Regions from separate parts of the Homo sapiens genome. Here region 1 is linked to region 2. Evidence: promoter capture Hi-C in 16 types of primary human blood cells and fetal thymus (Javierre and others, 2016). All regions are on one chromosome and are shown on one strand. Each heading gives the region's core, a stretch centred on a gene start or on the middle of the fragment in contact. The rest is flanking DNA. Distances are from core to core; before and after follow the strand shown. Region 1 overlaps SLC9A9 (solute carrier family 9 member A9). Region 2 holds the start of SLC9A9-AS1 (SLC9A9 antisense RNA 1).

Region 1 (3,644 bases), core at 467-2,966, 260 kb before region 2:
TAAGATAGCAAAACATCCTTTCTTATGGCTGTATAGTATTCCATGGTGTATATGTGCCACATTTTCTTTATCTAATCTATCGTTGATGGGAAACCATCATTCTCAATAAACTAACACAGGAACGGAAAACCAAACACCGCATGTTCTCACTCATAGGTGGGAGTTGAACAAAGAGAACACATGGATACAGGGAGGGGAACATCACACACCGGGGCCTGTTGAGGGGTTGGAGGCTAGGGGAGGAATAGCATTTGGAGAAATACCTAATGTAGATGATGGGTTGATGGGTGCAGCAAACCACCATGTCACATGTATGCCTATGTAACAAACCTGCACATTCTGCACATATATCCCAGAACTTAAAGTATAATTATAAAAAAAATTTTTTAATTAAAAAAAAAAGGTAGCAAAACATCTGGAAGCAGTACCGGGCTGGTAGGTAAAACGCCAGAGAACAATAATCGGGACAGTGACTGTTTAGTTGCTTTATGTTGGACAAGTGCATTCTCCAGAATTTTTTGTTTTGATTTGGTTTCTGGGATTTTTCTTAAATGGAAAGAGGCATTGATATCTTACTTCGATGATAAGACAGATGAAATATTCTGAGACCCTTTGATTTCTTACAGGTCTTGAGGGACGCATAAGATTTTTGTTTGTTGTAATTATTTGAAGTTCATTACATATTTTGTTTATGTATGACATTTTAATATTTAAGGATGCCTTGAAGGAATTTGGATTCCTTATTGCTCATAAAGCTTGTCGGTGGTCAGCCAGTAGCGCCATTTGCATCTCAATAGTGCAAAGGAGAGAAATGATATTTTGCAGGATCTTGGAGAGTATCCCTGGCAAGGTAGAATCAAACACAGGCAATTGTTGTGCTCATAAAGCCCCACGGCTTCTGTGGATTATGTGTAGGTCACATCTCAACTACAATTAATAGCAACCACCACCACTAAGATTGCTGACTACTCAGATGTTAAGCACAGCCGTATTTCTTTGCAAACAGAGGCTCTCCTTATAGAAGAAAAGAACTACTTATGCTTTCCAGGAAAAGTCCTTTTATTATTAGATTCCTGAGCATTTGGCGTTTTATACTGTTTATAATTCAATGCTCTTAGTAACAACAAAATAGCTGTAACTGATTGGCAAAATATAAAGAAATTCAGAAACATAATTATGTTTTTTACGAGTTAAATAGTTATATGAGATGGAGGACTATGGACAGGAAATATAATTTCTTTTAAAATCCTTTCCCCATGAGGCACACGGTAGGCTTTCTTCACCTAACTATTCTTCTGCCACAGTCCCATCTGGTGCACTGCACCTATGTGACAGAAGAAATAGCTCTCCAGGTCAGTGAGGGGGTAACTCATTTGAATCTTGTTTAGAATGAGGGATTGAGGCGACCTGTGGGTTCTACTTACATAATTTTCAGCATCTGGCTTGGCTAGCAAATCAATGGCCTCAAAACAAAAATAGAAACAAACAAAAGATTCCTGTTCCCTGAGAAAGATAATACCATTGTTCAGGAAATGGTGAGCTTGACAGGTATCTTTTTGTCCTTATTGGTGCCTACCAGACCACACACAGAGAAAACCAAACTCCCTCCATATTAAAGGACAAGGGCAGCAGCAGGCAGCACGCTTCCTCTAACTGGAAAGTGGAGAATGATTTTAAAAACTTGTGTTGACTTGCTTGCTTGCAGCATTTTAATAACATGTAGGTAGGAGGCCACGGGACTTCAGAAAAACAAGTACTGAGCCCCATCAGCAGTGCTTGTTCTTGTAATGTTCCGGGGTAGCATGTGCGGATTTGGAGGAAGACGGTGTCTTTTTCAAAGGAGGCTATTGGAGGAAGTTATAATCACAGTGTAAATAGTGATTCACTGGTACAAAGAATCTGCCTGAGAAAACTGGGTAGAAATTGAACGCTCACTAGCGCCACTAATTTACCCTCCATTAGTGTCCTGAGCTTCAAGTGAAAGCAGGAGGCTCCTCTCAAGGCACAGCTACAGCCCCATCCTTTGGCTCTACCTGGACTTTTAGACACATCTCCTTAATTCTGGAAAAAGACAGGAGTGCCATTACATCTGGGCTTATTTCGTGATGCTTCATGGAAACAGCTGCGTTGCCTGTCTTTGTATGGATACAGTTTTTAAAAATGAAAATCGCCATGGCAACAGCTGCAGCTACTTATTACAGAGCAGTGGAAATGACGCTGGTATCGGTAGGGAAAGCTATGCTCTCAGAATAATGTGTCCCTTATACTGGATTTTACCCACTAACATTTTCATTTAAAAAAAAAAAGATAAAAGTTGAGAATGTGTTCAAAAGCAATTTACCAGGGACTGGAGAGCTCAGGGAATTGGTAAGTGGGTACAGAACCTTTTGTCTGCAGGCCCCGAATTGAGCTGTTGACAACAGCTCTCGATACTGCGATTCTAGGGAAGGCAGCGCCCACTGCTTATGTTTAACCCCACAGTGCCGAATATGCCACTCTACACAGAGTTGCATAATGGCGTTGACAGTGATGATTAGAATGTTAATTGAAGCCAGTTTTCTGCACCTTTTAGCGCCATACCTTCCTTACAGCTTTGATAAATCTCTACATTTGAGACTATAGGAACCACTTGGCTCCTGCCTGCCAGTAAGTGTAAAATAGTTTAAAAGTAAGCTTTAATTTCCTCTTAACTCTATTCTGAGATTAACAACATCTTTCATGGCTGTCAGATCCTGGGGTCCAGGTCCACACCATGCTGAAGTCCGAGGGGAGTGGGTGGATGAGCAGAAAGAACCCTCGGGGGGCCACAGGCGGGTGAATATGGTTTTATTCAGCAGCAGCTCTCATCAACAGCTTTCTTAAACTACCTCTCTCCTGAGCAGCTTTTCTTACGCTGTCCGCTCTGTCTCAGCTGCTTGAATTGGCCACCCCCACGCAAGGTTGCGAGGCCAGTTCTCCCTTGCCTTCAGGGTCAACAGCTTAACTTTCTCTCTTTGAGCACAAACAAGCCTGAGCTGTGTTTTGGCCCCCTCCTGTCTGTCTGCAAGAAGGACAGCTTTGGCTCTCTCTTTCTCTGGACGCCAGCGTGCCCACCATGTCAAGCCGTGTTGAGCCGAGCCGAGCCCCCCAAGAGCTAAGCCCCGTGCACAGAGTCAGCAGGACAGTTATACCTTTTACAGACAATAGTGGCTCCAAGCCAAGCATGAACTTACACGAACAGGCTATATAATAAGTGGAGGTGTGTGCCTGCGCACCAAACTTGCTGACTCATACTCGCCTGGATATCCGCCTCGGCCTTTTCCTTAACCAAAGCACATCCATGTATCTTACAATGGCTCATGCTATATGTTCTGGCACTTTCTTTTTACTGAACATGAAGAAGGTAAGTGAAGAGGAACATAGAAGAAAAAAAAAGATTTACCGTGACATATGTTTAAGACCTCATACAAGGTCTGGGTGTGTGGTGGCTCATACCTGTAATCCCAGCACTTTGGGAGACCAAGGCAGGAGGACTGCTTGAGCCGAGGGGTTCAAGACCAGCCTGGGCAACAAAGTGAGACCTCAATCTCTACAAAAAATAAAACTTAGCTAGGTGTGGTGATGCACACCTATGATCCCAACTACATGGGAGGATGAGGCAGGAG
Region 2 (3,677 bases), core at 455-2,954:
GGGAGTTACATGGATTTGATAGGTAAACCACTATTTCAGCCATAACTTGCAAGCTGGTTAGACCATTGATCACTATACCTGGGTGTTAGTTTAGATAGAATATTGCTGAGGTAGTCAGCTCAGTACATTGTTGAGGTCTCAAGAGCACAAAGACTCCTTGTTGGGAAACTCCTGAGACCTAGAACCATGTTTCCAAGGCAGCAGTACTAGGTAAATATTCTAGGTGTATATTCTCTGTCATTTTTAATGTATGAATAGCAGACTAAAAGTGCTGCTTTTTATACCTAACCAGGAATCATCTTTGACACCATCTGAAGAATCAGTGGTAGACTCACCATCTTCAGAGTCCTTCAGCTTCCACTAGACCATTTAATTCATTTTGAGGGGACAAAATAGGGACTCCTGCAGTTTTCTCTCTGTAGTATTTTCTTGCTGAATCCAAGACCACATTAGGAAACCATGCCGTTGATTTTTTCGACTACTGCTTGTGGCAGTTCTTGCCTAGCTGTTGAAAGTTACTTTTTTTCCCCTCTTTACATCTTGGTAGAACATCTTATTCTGAAAATTGACTATCTCTCATCCTCCATTCCCACGCTTTGCCTAGAAAATGAAAAGATGTTTAAAAGAATGCCCTCCTGTTCTTGCCACTACAAAAAAATCAAAACATTTCCTGTCATACACTCACACACAATTAGTCTCCTTAACAATAAAGAGGAAAAGAAGTGGGAAAAAAATATCCATGACCTCTGTTGGTATTAAGTCTATAGGATACACTCAGCAGAGTCAAACCATCTAGCACAATCAAAACCATTATCTCCTCCTCTGGGTGTCTAAACTGCCCATATCAGTCATTTCAGTGAATAAAGAAATAAACAAACACTAGAAAATAGGATAGTTGTAGATTTGAGAAACAGTAAAAGTGTGGTGCTATGTATAGCAATGATATCACTTGTATTATTACAGTCATTTTTATATTACTAGCATTTGGGGATTATATCATCTAGCATTTGAGGTTGTTTTGACAATTTGTTCACATATAGATAAGAAAGAAGGAATGATCTTTTCAAAGAGAGATGCATGGTTAAAAGCGTGGCGCGTGTATATTTGCATGCACATGCACCTGCACCTGAGGTTGAACATGCACCAGATACACCATACCCCACCTGAGTGATTAAATAGATCACTCAATAGGAATTTTTCAGGTCATTTTCAGTTTTCTCAGTCTTTTGAAATAAGGTGATATTTTATGGTGCCCACAGTGGTTTGTGTCTACAAGCATTGCCTAATTTTAAAACCTTAAGTTAATCTTGACAAATCTGGCTATTGGAAGCTGTTTGGCCTTGAAGGTTATTTTATTTGTGAGTCCTGCTCTAGTTGCTACATAGATGGTGGCATTGGGTGGGGTGTTTAAAATCTAAGATAGTCCAATAAATAAACTGAAATACATCAGCAATAAGGTTTATAAGTGACCTCATGAGGAATCATCTAGCTTCTTAGATCAGGGTCTGCTGGTCATAAGGGTGGATCACTTGAGGTCAGCAGTTCAAGATCAGCCTGGCCAATATGGCAAAACCCTGTCTCTACTAAAAATACAAAAATTAGCTCGGTATGGTAGCACATGCCTTGTAATCCTAGCTACTTAGAAGGCTGAGGTAGGAGAATCACCTGAATCCAGGAAGCAGAGGTTGTAGTGAGCCAAGATGGTGCCACTGCACTCCAGCCTGGGTGACAGAGTTAGACACTGTCTCAAAAAAAAATAAGAAGCTCTAATGTTTGTTTCATTGAGAGATCCCTTCCTAAGGGACCCAACAAGCAGCTTCAATGATGGTCAGTAAAGTATGAACCTTATAACCATAGTTTCCACGTTTCCACCTTTGCCTCCTACTGAGGCGGCAGCAGAGCTGGGTCCTGACTGTGATGCGGTATTCCCATAACACAGCTCCACATCCAGAGGTAGTTTCACCCGGAATCAATGAAACTCAGCTTTCAGGGCTCTTCATCTGCATGGGTCCTTTGTAAGGGACCAGTGTTGATATTCAAAAGTGTGCATTCTTTTTATTAAGAATAGCCTCCAAAATTAGGTAACCTTCAGACTTCATGAAATCTGGATCTATCCCCGTCCATGTGAGTAAACACTACAGGGAAAATATGATAAATTAACGGTCTTATCATAATATTAAGTATTACAATAAATTATATGATTGTAAAAAATTTCAGTCCCTAGCACCTATATAACACTGTGTTCTGTATTTGCATATCGGAGTCATTTTGGTAAACAAAATTTTAATTTATTTGAACAGGGTTCGGGAAATCCTCAGGAAGTTTAACTTGCAATTTGGTATCTGAAGCTAATGTTATTCCTCTCCACATTTCTCCTCAAACATTTGGCACAGCTTTTCCTACCGTGGCAAGCAACTTGTCCCATTCTGAAAAGTGTGTTAAATTCACAGATACCCAATAATGATTATTGCAGGGTGTTCTCCAACACGTTTCATCCCTTGGTCTAAATTTACATTGTATGACTATGACCTGGGATGACTCTCTTGCCCTCCCTTGTAACTCAATACAGTTATGAATGGATGATTATTTTTATAAAATCCTACTCTGGAGTTCCCAAATTGACAGGCATTGGAGGCTCCCAAACCGACCCCATCTCAGGTATATATTCTCAAGACCAAAAGTTTATGAAAGCTAAGCCCCCTTAAGCCCCCACTACTCCAAAGGAACTGCAAAACAGCACATGAACAGTGAAAAAGATCCTAAAGAAATTCACCTCCCGATCACACCAAATTAATGCTATCCTGAGATACATCCAGCGAAAGGAATTCATCATATTCCACATAAGTGCCAAAAGACATTTGGACAGACTTTCAGCCTAAAGGATAGTGAGAGGGATAGTCTTAAAAATTTTAAAGATTTCTTTAGAACTTTCTTAGAATTAAGTGTCCTATTCAGCTTAATTGTTCTGCTACCAGCAAAAGTGATAAAGTTCAGGTGATCCTAAATGCAGAAAATATGTGGAAGTGAATAAAGCCTTCTGCACTAATGACTAGCAAATTTCAATAGATTTCCAATCTCTCTTTTTCACATTTCTTGTACCAACTCATTTATATTGTCATTCTAGAAAGAGCACATAAAAGGGTGTCTGGAGATAGATTTCTGGATGTTAAGAGAATCTTTAGTGAGTGGAGATAAGACCTGACCAGGAGACCTTTTATGAGTATATTCAGAAATGTAAACTGATGAATATGGTAAGGGCAAAAACTCAATATGATTGCATCTAAGATAGGATAAGGAGTTAATGCCCCTTTCCAAGAGAAATCTTGAAGACGGTACCAAAGTGAGCCCCAGGAAAGATCTGAACTGAAACCTCTCTAAGAGTCTCTTCAAAGCCTCCACTAGCTATAGAGTGGTTGCAATGGAGAATGATCTTGTTTTCCATTAAGAAATTCCAACTACTCATTAGTACCTGTTTTATTTTTCCCACTATAGCCTCCAGGCCTACCACTGTGCCTGGCACAAAGCAGGTGTTCTAATAAATGTCTAGTTAATGTTGAATCAGCAGGTAATCAAAATAGTCCTTCAGTTAAATGATAGTAAAATCCCGAATGTATTCCTGTGAGAGACTTGCCTTATTTCAGGCTGGTGTTGAGCATTGTCTTTTGACCTCTGCCTAC

Evidence for each region. Contacts are between HindIII fragments. The CHiCAGO score rates a contact against its expected background, and 5 or more counts as called.
Region 1: a contact is called between a fragment that was not itself captured here and the fragment with the promoter of SLC9A9-AS1 in region 2, in 8 of 17 cell types (M2 macrophages, endothelial precursors, naive B cells and 5 more). The highest score is 9.3, in M2 macrophages.

The regions. Positions count from the first base shown.
Region 1 is chr3:143,596,770-143,600,413 of GRCh38, reverse strand. The region is part of intron 6 of SLC9A9 (solute carrier family 9 member A9); the gene reads left to right. Among named protein-coding and RNA genes, the nearest start is that of SLC9A9, 250 kb to the left of the region's middle. The HindIII fragment of the contact is 1,918 bases long and covers 758-2,675 here.
Region 2 is chr3:143,340,273-143,343,949 of GRCh38, reverse strand. It overlaps SLC9A9-AS1 (SLC9A9 antisense RNA 1), which reads right to left and starts at 1,704. Exons shown (of 4, transcript NR_048544.1): 1 at 1,666-1,704; 2 at 336-600. All of the region lies in intron 14 of SLC9A9 (solute carrier family 9 member A9), which reads left to right. The HindIII fragment of the contact is 6,948 bases long and covers 1-3,677 here.